Linked DNA regions of Homo sapiens: all the other regions are linked to region 5. Evidence: promoter capture Hi-C in human tissues and cell types (Jung and others, 2019). All regions are on one chromosome and are shown on one strand. Each heading gives the region's core, a stretch centred on a gene start or on the middle of the fragment in contact. The rest is flanking DNA. Distances are from core to core; before and after follow the strand shown.

What was found. Contacts are between HindIII fragments. The study calls those that stand out against the background at their distance.
Region 1: a contact is called between a fragment that was not itself captured here and the fragment with the promoter of PTBP1 in region 5, in 1 of the 25 tissues and cell types used here (dorsolateral prefrontal cortex).
Region 2: a contact is called between the fragment with the promoter of CDC34 here and the fragment with the promoter of PTBP1 in region 5, in 1 of the 25 tissues and cell types used here (aorta).
Region 3: the fragment with the promoter of POLR2E here is called in contact with the fragment with the promoter of PTBP1 in region 5 in 1 of the 25 tissues and cell types used here (dorsolateral prefrontal cortex).
Region 4: a fragment that was not itself captured here is called in contact with the fragment with the promoter of PTBP1 in region 5 in 1 of the 25 tissues and cell types used here (dorsolateral prefrontal cortex).

The regions. Positions count from the first base shown.
Region 1 is chr19:513,292-515,991 of GRCh38, reverse strand. The region is part of intron 1 of TPGS1 (tubulin polyglutamylase complex subunit 1); the gene reads right to left. Among named protein-coding and RNA genes, the nearest start is that of MADCAM1-AS1, 6.8 kb to the right of the region's middle. The HindIII fragment of the contact is 7,591 bases long and covers 1-2,700 here.
Region 2 is chr19:530,482-533,181 of GRCh38, reverse strand. It overlaps CDC34 (cell division cycle 34, ubiquitin conjugating enzyme), which reads right to left and starts at 1,422. Exons shown (of 5, transcript NM_004359.2): 1 at 1,074-1,422. The coding sequence starts at 1,250. RefSeq lists enhancers at 48-207, 278-327, 725-1,381 and silencers at 588-757, 1,178-1,917. The HindIII fragment of the contact is 13,520 bases long and covers 1-2,700 here.
Region 3 is chr19:1,094,125-1,096,900 of GRCh38, reverse strand. It overlaps POLR2E (RNA polymerase II, I and III subunit E), which reads left to right and starts at 1,526. Exons shown (of 8, transcript NM_002695.5): 1 at 1,526-1,642. The coding sequence starts at 1,586. RefSeq lists enhancers at 1,493-1,582, 2,340-2,776. The HindIII fragment of the contact is 36,385 bases long and covers 1-2,776 here.
Region 4 is chr19:1,120,086-1,122,785 of GRCh38, reverse strand. SBNO2 (strawberry notch homolog 2) reads left to right here. Exons shown (of 32, transcript NM_014963.3): 9 at 1-128; 10 at 228-318; 11 at 504-647. Among named protein-coding and RNA genes, the nearest start is that of GPX4, 17 kb to the right of the region's middle. RefSeq lists an enhancer at 1-447. The HindIII fragment of the contact is 7,332 bases long and covers 1-2,700 here.
Region 5 is chr19:796,060-798,759 of GRCh38, reverse strand. PTBP1 (polypyrimidine tract binding protein 1) reads right to left here and starts at 1,308. Exons shown (of 15, transcript NM_002819.5): 1 at 1,255-1,308. The coding sequence starts at 1,262. RefSeq lists enhancers at 1-469, 470-1,355, 1,562-1,901, 1,554-2,189 and silencers at 612-921, 992-1,171, 1,182-1,531, 1,295-1,649. The HindIII fragment of the contact is 37,831 bases long and covers 1-2,700 here.

The sequences.
Region 1 (2,700 bases), core at 59-2,558, 280 kb after region 5:
GGCGGGATCTCGGCTCACTGCAAGCTCCGCCTCCCGGGTTCACGCCATTCTCCTGCCTCAGCCTCCCAAGTAGCTGGGACTACAGGCGTCCGCCACTATGCCCGGCTAATTTTTTGTATTTTTAGTAGAGACGGGGTTTCACCGTTTTAGCCGGGATGGTCTCGATCTCCTGACCTCGTGATCCACCCGCCTCGGCCTCCCAAAGTGCTGGGATTACAGGCGTGAGCCACCGCGCCCGGCCCTCTTTCTTTTTTTGAGACAGTGTCTCACTCTGTTGTCAGGCTGGAGTGCAGTGGCACAATCTCAGCTCACAGCAACCTCCACCTCCCGGGTTCAAGCGATTCTCCTGCCTCAGCCTCCTGAGCTGCTGGGATTACAGGCGTGTGTTACCACACCCAGCTAATTTTTGTATTTTTAGTAGAGACGGGGTTTCACCATGTCGGCCAGGATGGTCTGGATCTCGAGTGACCTCGTGGTCCGCCCACCTCGGCCTCCCAAAGTGCTGGGATTACAGGTGTGAGCCACTGCGCCCAGTCTGTGCTGAACATTTAACACAGCTGACATTGCATTTTTTCTTTTTTTTTTTTTTTTGAGACAGGGTCTCACTGTGTTGTGCAGGCTGGAGAGCAGTGGTACAATCAGGGCTCACAGCAGCCTCCACCTCCTGGGCTCAAGCGATCCTCCTGCCTCAGCCTCCCAAACTGCTGGGATTACAGGTGACAGTTGCTGCTCGGGGCCAGTGGTGGTATTTCTCTCCCCACAATCCCACAGGCAAGGCCCCACAGTCAGCCTGAGGGTCAAATACGACCTGCTGCCTGCTTTTGTAAATAAAGCTTTATCGGAACATAACCACATCAGTCCGCTGACATGTGGCCTGTGGCAGCTTCCGACCAGAACCGTAGAGCTGAATGTCAGGATGGAGGCTGCCACGCAAAGCTGAAATGTTCACTATCTGGCCCCTTACAGAAGAAGGCTGTCAGCCCTGCTGCCGGCTCTGGGGTGGGTTCGATTCCCTGCCCCAGTGAGGAGCCTGAGGCCTTACTACGTGCCACTCGTGTGCTGGTAGTGTGACACACACTCCCGTGGAGGGCACCAGGGAGTGGCCAGGGAGCACCGTGGCCAGCGTGGGGGCCGCTGCAGGACCCTGGGTGGGCTGCTTAACCCCCTGGCCTCACTCCCCCCATCAGTTCCCGGCCAGGCCTCATGCTAGTGGCCTGTTACTTCCTCTGGGACATATAGGGAAACTGAGGCTCAGGGCAGCCCCATGGTCTGGCCAAGGGTCCCAGAGAGGAAGTGGCCAACCTCAGGGCTTACGCTTTTCCCTTCTGGGAGCTCAGCTTCATGGTGAGGAGGGCAGCCTTCCCTCCGGCATGACCTGGGCACACGACTTCACCTTTCTGTGGGCCACCTGTGGTAGGTGCCGGGGAAGTGCTAAGCCAGCATGCAGTAGGTGCTCAGTAAATGCAGGGTTGGTGTGCAGCAGGTGCTCAGTAATGCAGGGCTGGTACACAGTAGGTGCTCAGTGATGCTGGGCCAGAATGCAATAGGTGCTCAGTAAATGTGGGGCTGGTGTGCAATAGGTACTCAGTAATGCTGGGGCGGTGTGCAGTGGGTGCTCAGTAAATGCTGGGCCAGTAAGCAATAGGTGCTTAGTAAACGTGGGGTCGGTGTGCAGTGGGTGCTCAGTAATACAGGGCCGGTGTAGAGTAGGTGCTCAGTGAATGCAGGGCCAGTACACGGTAGGTACTCAGTAATGCTGGGGCGGTGTGCAGTGGGAGTGAAGTAAATGCTGGGCCAGCATGCAATAGGTGCTCAGTAAATGTAGGGTCAGTGTGCAGTGGGTGCTCAGTAATACAGGGCTGGTGTACAGTAGGTGCTTAGTGAATGCAGGGCTGGTACATAGTAGGTGCTCAGCAAATGTGGGGCCAGTGTGCAGTGGGTGCTCAGTAATGCTGGGTCTGTGTACAGTGGGTGCTCAGTAAATGCTGGGCCAGCATGCAATAGGTGCTCAGTAAATGTGGGGCCGGGGCAGGTTGGTGTGCAGCAGGTGCTCAGTAATGCAGGACTAGTGCACAGTAGGTGCTCAGTAATGCTGGGGTTGTGTGCAGTGGGTGCTCACTAAATGCTGGGCCAGGATGCAATAGGTGCTCAGTAAATGTGGGGCCAGTGTGCAGTAGGTGCTCAGTAAATGTGGGGCTGGTGTGCAGTAGGTACTCAGTAATGCTGGGCTGGTGTGCAGTAGGTACTCAGTAATGCTGGGCTGGTGTGCAGTAGGTACTCAGTAATGCTGGGCTGGTGTGCAGTAGGTACTCAGTAATGCAGGGCCAGTATGCAGTAGGTGCTCAGTAATGCTGGGCTGGTGTGCAGTAGGTGTTCAGTAATGCAGGGCCGGCATGCAGTAGGTGCTCAGTAAATGCTGGGCGGGTGCACAGTAGGTGCTCAGTAATGCTGGGCCGGTGCACGGTGGGTGCCTGGTGAACACGTGCCTCCCTGGTCATCACTGCTGCTCAGTTCAGGGCTTAGGGATGGACGTGCCATCTCAGCGAGCTCGAGGGTCAAAGCTCTGCTATGGAGGAGGAAACTGAGGCCCAGAGGCAGGAGGGCAGCGACCTGCAATTCAACTCTAGGCCCATCTGGCTGTACGCTCCTTTTCCCTCCCAAGTAGTAAAGGCCCCATTTGTTGGCCCTTATAATCCGCTG
Region 2 (2,700 bases), core at 173-2,672, 270 kb after region 5:
TCGCTTTGTCCCTCTGGCCCCAAGAACGAGGTCCCTGAACGCTAAAAGAAGTCAAAGGTCACGTCTGGATCGTGAGATCAAGAAAACTGCCCTGGTTTTGGCCTGAGTCCTTTTCACATGAGACAGAAACAGCCTCCCCGCTCCCAACAACAACAAAAACATCCAGAAACTGCTTGGAATTAAACCGCCAGAGGGCAGAAGAAACGGCCCAGAACTCGGGGTTTGGGTCCCAAGAAGCCACCTGTTCAGTGGACTCTGAGAAAGGCCAAGACCAGCTGGGATGAGCGAGCCCGGAGCTTCTGAGGTCGGGGTCCGGGACGCGGGCCCGAGCCGGGAGGCCTGGAGAGAGCTGCAGGGAGCAGGTGGGAGGCACGCCCCTACTTCGGCCTTCCCGAGGGCGCAGGTTACATAAAGCAGGGGATGGAGCCCAGGGCGCCTGGCCGGCTGCTACTGGCAAGGGTGGCCGCTTTCCAGGCGGGTCCTGGCTGCCAAGGCTCATCCGGGCCTTTGTTGGAGACTGAGCGAGTGGCCGCGCCAGCCACCCCCAGGCTGGCCTCGCTCCCCCGCTCACGGGCCCAGCTCCCCAACAATAGCAGCTACGGGGTCTGGGGGGGCCTCTTTGTCTCCTCCGGGGAGGGCGGGGAGGGCAGCTGAAAGGCCGGCGCGGCCTGGGCTCCGCTCCCTCTTTCTCGCAGGGGCGGAGGGGGAGGCAGCCGGGGTCCAGCCCCCGCCAAGGAGGAGGTGGGCAAGAGCCCCACGCCCAGATGCTACAGGGAGGGCCCCCGGCCACCCCTCCGGGGGCCAAGAGCCTAACAGGGGACCGGACGATGCCTTGAAGGGAACTGGGGATTTTCGAGGACTGCAGCAGAGGCTGAAGGTCCCCGAGACGGTCCGAGGAGGGGGCCGGGCAGAGCTGGGTGGGGGAACGTGGCCATAGAAGGGAAACGAGCCCAAGCCAGGAGGCTTCGGGGCCCGCCCAGCAACAGCGCTAGGACCGCGGGGCAGGGAGCTGGTTCCCGGCGCCCGAGGTCGCTCGTGGGCTCCGGGACCCGGGCGGGGGTCGCCGCGCTCACCTTGAAGTAGCCGCCCTCGTAGTAGGTGTTGGGGGGCCCGAAGATGGCCACCTCCCAGTTGTATAGATCGCCCTCGTCCACCAGTGTCACGCGGAATCCCTCGACCGGCTCTTCCTGCAGCCCCTTGAGCTCCAGCAGCAGCGCCTTCTGCGAGCTGGGCACTAGCGGCCGAGCCATGGCGGCGGCGGAGGGGCCCGGGGTCGGAGCAGCGCGGGGCCGCGCGACCACCGCGAGTTCGCGAGACGGGCCGGGCCGCGCACCGTCCGGGGGGGAGCCACCGGGGCCGCCGCCTGCCTCCTCCTCTGCGCCGCCGCCGCCGCCCGGGGACCCCGAGCGCTCCAGCAGCTCTGGCGCCGCCGCCCCACCGGCGCTTGCCTTGGCCGGGCCCGCGCGCCCCGCCCCCCGCTGCGCCTGCGCGCACCGCCTGGCCCCGACTGCGCCTGCGCTCCGCGGCCAGGTCCGACTTGCGCCTGCGCGCCCGGCCGCAGGGGACGCCGGGAGGTGGAGTCCCGGCCCCGGTCCCGCCTACGGCGCCGAGCGCCTCCGCCGGGAGGGAGGGTTCGAGCGCGCAGCCCCGGGCTCTTCCGATCCCCGAGGCCGCCGCCGTCGCCCCCTGCTCGACCAGCACCGCGGACGCTGTGCGCAAGGAGGCGGGCAGGGCTGCTCTGCGCCGTCACCGGCCCGGTCCCCCGGCTTTGGGGTTGTTTTGTGACGTGCCGGCGCGGGGCGGGGCCGCGGGCGGTGAACGGGGCGCGGCGCGGGGTCCTGACCGGGACCGGAGGGGCAGGGCCGGTCCATCCGGCGCGACCCCGCGTCCCCGTCTCCGTTTCCCCGTCTGTGCAGGGGACGGGCGCGAAGTCTGTCCTAGGGTCGCGCTGGCCACGCGGAAGGGAGGAAGGGGCGGGAGCGAGGCGGGATCCGCAGACCTGGCTTCCAGGCGCGGCGCTGCCTCGGTTCCCCCGACAGCGGGAGCTCTGAGAAGTGGGCGAGGTCGGGGAGGGCTCTGAGGGGTGGGAGGGGCGAGGGCTTCCCTGGTCCCCGTTGAAGTCACCATGTGGTGTGAGGCGAGTGCAGGCGCTGGAGCCATCAGAGGTTGGCAAGGTGCTCCTGCCCCCCAGAGAAACTGGGAAAGAGGCCTACGCCGGCCAGCATCGGCTCAGCACCTGACCCGGGAGAGGCGCCAGCCCCACGGAGCCCCCACCCCAAGCTGAGCCCGAGCCTGGCTGTGCCCTCCTCCCAGCCTGACCTTTGTCCTACCCGAGTCTTTTTTTTTTTTTTTTTTTTAAATGAGACAGAGTCTCGTTCTGTGGCCCAGGCTGGAGTGCAGTGGCACAATCTCACTGCAACCTCCGCCTCCCGGGTTCAAGCTAGTGTCCGCCTCAGCCTCCCGAGTAGCTGAGATTACAGGTGCCCGCCACCACGTCCGGCTAATTTTGTATTTTAAGTAGAGATGGGGTTTCACCATGTTGGCCAGGCTGGTCTCGAACCCCTGACCTCAAGTGTGTTGTTAGGTTTTGAAAGGAAGGGGAGGATGCAGTTTGGACTAATAAAGGGATCCGTCTGCGTCGGCCTCCCAAATGCTGGGATTATAGGCATGAGCCACCGCGCCCAGCCCACCTGAGTCTTG
Region 3 (2,776 bases), core at 277-2,776, 300 kb before region 5:
CAGGCTGGAGTGCAGTGGTGCGATCTCGGCTCACTGCAACCTCCGCCTCCCGGGTTCAAGTGATTCTCCTGCCTCAGCCTCCCGAGTAACTGGGAGTACAGGCACCCACCACCAAACCTGGCTAATTTTTGTATTTTTAGTAGAGACAGGGTTTCACCATGTTGGCCAAGCTGGTCTGGAACTCCTGATCTCATGCTCTGCCTGCCTCGGCCACCCAAAGTGCTGGGATTACAGTGATGAGCCACCACTGCTAATGGGATTTTTGCTTGAATCTATCCTCACTGTATTCCCTGACCTCCCCATGTGATACTGCAGTTCTCCCATTCTCCCCATGTCACTTAGCCTCCCTGCTCTTTCTTCTTCCGTAGCTTTGTCACTTTCTAACGTTGTTATTTATTTTATTTTATTTCATTTCATTTTATTTTTGAGACAGAGTCTTGCTCTGTTGTCCAGGCTGGAGTGCAGTGGCACGATCTTGGCTCACTGAAACCTCCACCTTACAGGTTCACGAGATTCTCCTGCCTTAGCCTCCTAAGTAGCTGAGACTACAGGCACCTGCCACCTGGCCCAGCTAATTTTTTGTATTTTTAGTAGAGACGGGGTTTCACCGTGTTAGCCAGGATGGTCTTGAACTCCTGATCTCATGCTCTGCCCGCCTCAGCCTCCCAAAGTGCTGGGATTATAGGCATGAGCCACCGCGCCCGGCCACGTTATTTATTATATTTTACTAAATCCTGTCTTTATCTGAATGCAAGGGATACTTGGCCTGTTTTATTCACCATCACTGTAGGTTGCTGAGTAAATGTTGAATTAACGAATGCATCACTGAATAAGTTACTGATAGCCTGCACACAGGAAGTGTTGGGCTGGGGTTCTCCGTGAACCTGGGGAAGTGAGGAGGTTTGCAAAGACAGGAAGAGTCTGGGGTGGGGAGATACCCAGGCTAGGCTGGGGAGATACCCAGGCTAGGCTGGTGGCGCTCAGGGGAGAGGACAGAGGTGAGGGGACTTAATAAGCACCTAGAGAGATGCCTAAGACTCTCAGTTAACCGTCTAAAGTAGGGACACTTTATTGCCATTGCACAGGTAGGGAAACTGAGGCCCAAGGGAATTAACCCTGACCTGGCCAGGAGCCAATGGAGGAAACCCTGTACAGTTTGATGCACAAATATTTATAGAGTTCCCACTAGGCTCCCAGACCATCCCTAGGAGCCGAGCTGCCCCTTGACCCCATCCAGGCCTCAGTTTCCCCGCTCACACTTCGCCCCCGCCTCGTGGGATTCTAAACTGTTGCTCCAAGGTGGGAGTTGAACGGAAACTACAACTCCCGAGAGGCTGTGCGGCCAAAGACACACGAGAACTACGGAGGCGAGAGACTCGCTCAGCCAACTGCCGCTCTCGTAAGGCTCGGGCTGCCCTTGGCGCTGCCGATCCGAGACGTTGCTGCATTCAGGCATTCGCCGACGACAGACCAGCGCGGGGCGGGGTTAGGCGGAGGGGGCCTGATTCGGATTCGGCGCAGGCGCAGTCCGCGCGGGTTCTCGCGCGGAGAAGGGGTGCGAGCGGCGGCGGCGGCGGAGGCTGCCATGGACGACGAGGAGGAGACGTACCGGCTCTGGAAAATCCGCAAGACCATCATGCAGGTGAGCCGCGCCTGGTGTTGGGGGCGGGGGCGCGGGCGGCGGGTGTAGGGGCCCGAGGTGGGGTCGAGCACGGCGTCTCCTCGTACTCTCGTCGGAGCAGCAGCGATGAAGGGCCGGGCCGATACGGGAGGCCCAGAGGTCGCCGGGGATACCAGGCGCTGGACCCGACCTGAGCCGGCAGCGGGGAAGGGAGGGGGTTTCGAGACGTCTGGGTGCGGTGCTTAGGGGTGGGTGGGCGGCTTGGGCTGGTGCGGCGCGCGTGGCGGCGAGAGGAGGAGGAAGCCGCGAATGGGGACGGGGGGCGCCCCCAGACTCTGCCCTTCTCTGTGATTCAGCGTCGCTATTTGTCCTTGCGTCCTGAACCCCATGGAGTCTTCAGCATCCGAGGCTGGCAGAGTTGGTGGTTGGGAAGCAGCGGGCGAGCTGGGGCTTTCGATGGGGACGTGGAGCTCGGAACCCGTGCCTTGGGGTCTGGGGCAGATGGAGGCCACTGGGTCGAGTCCGGTTTGGAAGCCGGGCACAGGCCTGAGGACCTGCGGTTCAGGGTATTGCCTCAGCCATTGGGGCCGTTTGAGAGCTTTTGCTTTGTCTTGCTTCCCACCCTTTGCCCTTGTCCTCAGCGAAGCCCCCCGCAGCCTGATTCTTCTTTCTCCGATCCTCAAACATTGTCAGCCTGAAGTCACATCTGTTTCGGTCCCTGTCATTTTTTTTTTTTAAGAGATAGGGTTTCATTCTGTCGCCCAGGCTGCAGTGCAGTGGTGCAATCATAGCTCACTGCATCCTTGAACTGGCCTCCAGCAACCCTCCTGCCTCAGCCTCCCTAAGTACTGGGATCACGGGCGTGAGCCTCCGCGCCCCGCCTTTGTCCCTGCCTTTAGGGTAGCTCTGCAAAGTGGTTTGGAGGGCTTTGCTCCCTGCCAGGTTTCTGTGAGGCTGGGTGGACAGACGGTCTTGGTCAAGGCTGGACATCTCTGGGAGCCTCTCAGGATCATACTGGTCCCATCCTGTGGTGTGAGGCTGTGGGGGCCGGGGTGGCTGTCATGGAGCACACAGTGAGTGTTCATCCCGTTTGCTGTTCACCTCTGTCCTCTGCAGCAGCCGCAGGTCTGACTTCCGGGTCACGAGCTTTGGCCG
Region 4 (2,700 bases), core at 92-2,591, 320 kb before region 5:
GAGGTCCTGCTCCCCAGCGGGCAGCGCGCGGGCTTTCTCATCGGCGATGGGGCCGGCGTGGGCAAAGGCCGGACGGTGGCCGGAGTCATCCTGGAGAACCACCTGCGCGGCCGGAAGAAAGCATTGTGGTGAGGCCCTGCCTGGGGCAGGGGGCGGGAGCGGGGGTGGGGGGCGGAAGCGGGGGGCGAGGGGGAAGGGTGGGCGCGCCTGACGCCCCCACCCCGCAGGTTCAGCGTCTCCAACGACCTCAAGTACGATGCGGAGCGCGACCTGCGGGACATCGAAGCCACGGGCATCGCGGTGCACGCGCTCAGCAAGGTAGGGGCTGTGCTCGGCAAAGTAGGGGGCAAGGTGGGGACCGTGCCCTGCAAAGTGGGGGCTGCTCAGCTGGGTGGGCCAGCAGCCAGGGCAGGCTCTGCCCAGCACCCTTACAGATAGGGAGACCCAGGTCCAGAGCCTGCTGAGCCGGGGCCCCATTCCACACCTGTTCTGTGCATCCCCAGATCAAGTACGGTGACACCACTACCTCAGAGGGCGTCCTCTTCGCCACCTACTCCGCCCTGATTGGGGAGAGCCAGGCCGGCGGCCAGCACCGCACTCGCCTCCGGCAGATCCTGGACTGGTGTGGGGAGGCCTTCGAGGGCGTCGTATCCTGCTGGGGGCAATCGGGAGGGGAGGGCTGGATTAGGGGGTCGGAGGGAAAAGGAGGATGGAGGAGTGGGAGAGGAGGGGTGGGAGTCAGGGGAGAGGAGGGCAGGATGGGAGAGGGTAGGAGCGGAGGGGTGGGGCTGGGGAAGGGCTGGAGGCCACTGGAGCTCACTACCCTGGATGTGGCCACCCAGCCCCCAGCTTTGCTCAGGGTTTAGGACTCCGGATAGAAGACTTTTCTGGTCCTGGGAGGCTGGCCCTGTGGGTACCACACAAGTGACCATCATCATTCACCACAGGGCTCCGGCTTGGTTTCTTGGTTCTGATAAGTGGGATGAGTGACCATAGATGTGGTCCTGATGTTTGCCATGATGCCGTGGGCAGAGGGTGGCCACTGAGCTGCTCCCCAAGTCAGGAAGGTGCCAACCCCAGCTGATAGTGTGGTGGGCACAGTTCACTCCCCAGCATCCCAGGGCTCTCGTCGGCAGGCTGCGGTTCGGAGGGGCTCCCCCACAGGAGACCCAGGACAGTTAGCAGCAAAGGCACGGCAGGGCACCCCTTGGCCAGGCTCAGCCCTGGTGCTCGGCCCTGCAGGGTGCACCTTGGGTGTTGGGGTGTTGGGAGCACAGGCTCAGATAAGGGAGGGACGTTGGCCTGCAGCATCCACTTCATGCACAGGACATGGCCATGGCTTTGCTGTTCAGTTAACGCCGAGACACAGAACATTCAGACTGGCCAGAAACAGAACGGGAGACTGCTGGTGTCTTCGCACCCGGCTGAACAATCTATGTGCAACAATCTACGAAATAGCGATAACCCTGAGATCATACCTCGCTGAGCTGCTACGTGGCGGCAGGGCCGGCCGTTTAATTTGTATTCTCCCAGTTTTCCTTCCTCAGACTGCTTTCCTGGAACTTGGCTTTCTTTCGTCTTAAAATATTAAGAACCTGGCCGGGTGCAGTGGCTCACGCTTGTAATCCCAGCACTTTGGGAGGCCGAGGCAGGCGAATCACGAGGTCAGGAGTTCGAGACCACCTGGACAACATGGTGAAACCACGTCTGTACTAAAAATACAAAAGTTAGCTGGGCGTGGTGGTGCGCACCTGTAATCCCAGCTACCCGGGAGGCTGAGGCAGGAGAATCGCTTGAACCCAGGAGGCAGAGGTGGCAGTGAGCCGAGATTGCCCCACTGCTCTCCAGCCCAGGCGACAGAGCGAGACTGTGTCTCATCTAAAAAAAAAAAGAGTTCCAGACTGTCTTGACCAATATGGTGAAACCCCGTCTCTACTGAAAATACAAAAATTACCCGGGCGTGGTGGCGCACACTTGTAATCCCAGCTACTCAGGAGGCTGAGGCAGGAGAATCGCTTGAACCAGGGAGTCGGAGGTTGCAGTGAGCTGAGATCGCGCCGCTGCATTCCAGCCTAGTGACAGAGCGAGACTTCGTCTCAAAAAAAAACAAAGAATTAGGGCTGGGCACGGCTCACACCTGTAATCCCAGCACTTTGGGAGGCTGAGGCAGGCAGGTCACTTGAGGTCAGGAGTTTGAGATTATCTGGCCAACCAAACGGCCAACCCCGTCTCTACCAAAACTACAAAAATTAGCCGGTTGTGGTGGTGGCACACACCTGTAGTCCCAGCTCCTTGGGAGGCTGAAGCAGGAGAATCACTTGAATCTGAGAGGCAGAGGTTGCAGTGAGCTGACATTGTATCACTGCACTCCAGCGTGGGTGACAGAGCAAGACCCTGTCTCAAAAAAACAAACAAAAAAGAAAACAGGTTCCAGGTATCCTCCTCCGATGGCAACGTCCTGCGATATCATGGTTTAGGGATCCCACCCTTCCTCGCCGGAGGCCCCATCCTCGGTGTGTGTTGTTTAGAGTCTGGGAGGAGCCATCCCAGGCCACACCCATCTAATGGTCGTGTGGGGGCCGCCTGCCCGCCCGCCCCCCATGGTAGCCGGCTGCCACTCCGACCTGGGCTTCCCTCGTGGAGTTCTCAGCCGCACAGGCGTTTGCCCCCCACCAGGAAGGTGGGGTCTTGGGTGGTCAG
Region 5 (2,700 bases), core at 59-2,558:
CAGCCCCGGCCAGGTCCTGACCCAACAGTGAGCTCCCCACGGCTTCTCCCGGCCACTGCAACTCCCGGCGAGGCCCTAAGTGACTCGGAGCGTCCGTCGGAAGGGCAGCCTCCGGGCCTCCTGCCTCACTCCGGGAGGCGAGTGCGCGGCCCCCGAGCCCGCGGTGCTGGGTCCGAGAGCGGGGAGCCCTCGTCTCGCCGTCTGCAGGACCCACCTGCCCGCACGCATGCTAAGGGGTCCAGACCCACTCTAGGGCTGCGCCTCTTCTGACACCACAGACTGCACGGACCACGTTTAACAGACTTTTAAAAGTGACTGAACCCAAGAAAAACTTCTCAGGAAAACGGAAAGAATGCGAAACATCTCCAGCCTCTCCCGCTTCCTATTCCCAGGGAGGGCCTCGCGCAGGAAGCGCTCGGCGGGACACGGCCTTTCTGGAGGGGGCTCCCACCTCTCCCAAGGGAAGCCCGCCCAGCAAAGCCGCCCGGAAAGGCTGCCCCGGCCCGAGAGCCGGGAAGGCCCCTCCCCATGACGGCGCCCGCGGGGGTCCCTGGAGAGGCCCCTCCGGCCCCGGGGCGGAGGACAGACCCTCGGGGCGGCCGCTTCTCTCCCGAGATCACCGAAACCCCTTGGCCGCGGCCCGGGGCGCACGGGGGGCAGGGGTAGGGCGGGGAGCGCAGAGACTCGGGCCCGCGGCGAGGCCCCGGCGCCAGCTTTCCCTCCCGGCGGCCGCCCCAGCCCCGCCTGCGCTTCCGGGGCTGCGCCGGGGGCAGAGTCCGGGCGGCGGGAAAGGCGCGCGCCCCCGATGGCGGCCGCGCACGCGCGCTGGGGCCAACGGGGACGCGCGACGGGCTACGCAGGCGCACGAGGGGAGCGGACGGGAGGCGGGAAGGGCCATCCGGGCGCGCGAGGGCCGGACGGGAAGCGGGAAGGGCCGCGCGCCGCCGAGGCGGGGCAAAGGCGAAGTGCGGGGACGCGCGCGGAGGGGGAGGGGCGCGGGAGGCCGCGTGCGCTAGGGACGGGGCGCGCGGGGGCCGGAAGCGGGCCGGACGGGGGATGGGGACGCGGCCAGACCCCCGGGAAGCCCCTGACCCGCCCCGCACCCGCGCCCGCCACGCGGAGAGGAAGGGGAGAGCCCGCCGCCCCCTCCCGCCCGAGAGGGGGCGAGATCGGCCCCGGGGAGGCCGGCGCGGCGGCGGGGGCAGGGCTGCGGCGCGGGGAGGGCGGTGGGGCGCGGGGCGACGTGCGACTCACCCGTCCATGGCACACAGAGCAGACCCGCGGGGGACGGAGTGGAGGCGCCGGAATAGCAGGAACCGACCCAACGGCTCCGAGTTATAGACTCACAAAATGGCGGAGACGCCCGCACACGTCCCCCGCGCGCGCTGCCCATTGGCTCCCGCTGCAGCCAGGGGGCGGGGAGAGCCCCGCGGGCCCCCGCCAGCACCTCCCACTGGCCAGAAGGCCGCCCGGGGGCGGGACCCAGAGAAATCGCAGGCGCCTATTGGGGGAGGCGGTTATTCCTCAAGGCCGAAGGCGGAAACGGCTTGTGTAGTCGGGGGAGGGGGAGAAAATGGGATCACGTGACGGCGTCTGAGCCAGTCAGCTGGCGCGTGGCTTTGCGGGAGACGCCATCTTGAGAGTGGGTACGTGGCGAGTCAGGCGGCGGGAAGCGTGCTTTGCCCAGGCTGCCGCCATCTTGCAAGTGGGCAGGACCCGCCCGCCTGGGCCGTGAGGGCAAAGGGAGTCGCATCGCCATCTTGGAGTCGGGCAGGAAACCCTCAGGGCTCCATGTTGGTTGTGGGCACATGGCCAAAAAGTCCGATTCAAACTGAGCGCTCACATCTGGGTGATCGCGCGGGGAGGGAAAGGCCGCGTCGCGTCCCGGACACGCCAGGGCTGTTTCCACAGTGGCCACAGATACTGCGGGCGCGCCATGATCCGGGGTCACCCCCGACCGTTCTTTGTTCGCCCCGGAACAGCGAATCCCGACTGCGGAGATAGGGAAACTGAGGTCCGGGCCCCGCACAGTCCGCGGCCGGCTGCCTACAGCTGGGAAAACTGAGGCCTGGACCTTGTACAGTCCGCGGCCGCCCGCCTACAGCTGGGGAAACTGAGGCCTGGACCTTATACAGTAGGCGGCCGCCCGCCTACAGCTGGGGAAACTGAGGCCTGGACCTTGTACAGTCCGCGGCCTCTCACCTACAGCTGGGGAAACTGAGGCCTGGACCTTGTACAGTCCGCGGCCGCCCGCCTACAGGTGGGGAAACTGAGGCCTGGACCTTGCAGTCCTTGGCCGCCCGCCTACAGCTGGGGAAACTGAGGCCTGGACCTTGTACAGTCCGCGGCCTCTCACCTACAGCTGGGGAAACTGAGGCCTGGACCTTGTACAGTGGGCGGCCGCCCGCTTACAGCTGGGGAAACTGAGGCCTGGACTTTGCACAGTCCGCGGCCAACCGCCTAAAGCTGGGGAAGCTGAGGTCCGGGCCACACACAGTCCACGGCCATCCGCCTACAGCTGGGGAAACTGAGGCCAAAGCCACACACAGTCCACGGCCATCTGCCTACAGCGGGGGAAACTGAGGCCCAGGCCACACACAGTCCACGGCCATCCGCCTACAGCTGGAGAAACTGAGGCCCGGGCTCCATACAATCCAAGGCCGCCCGCCTACAGGTGGGGAAACTGAGGCCCAAGCCACC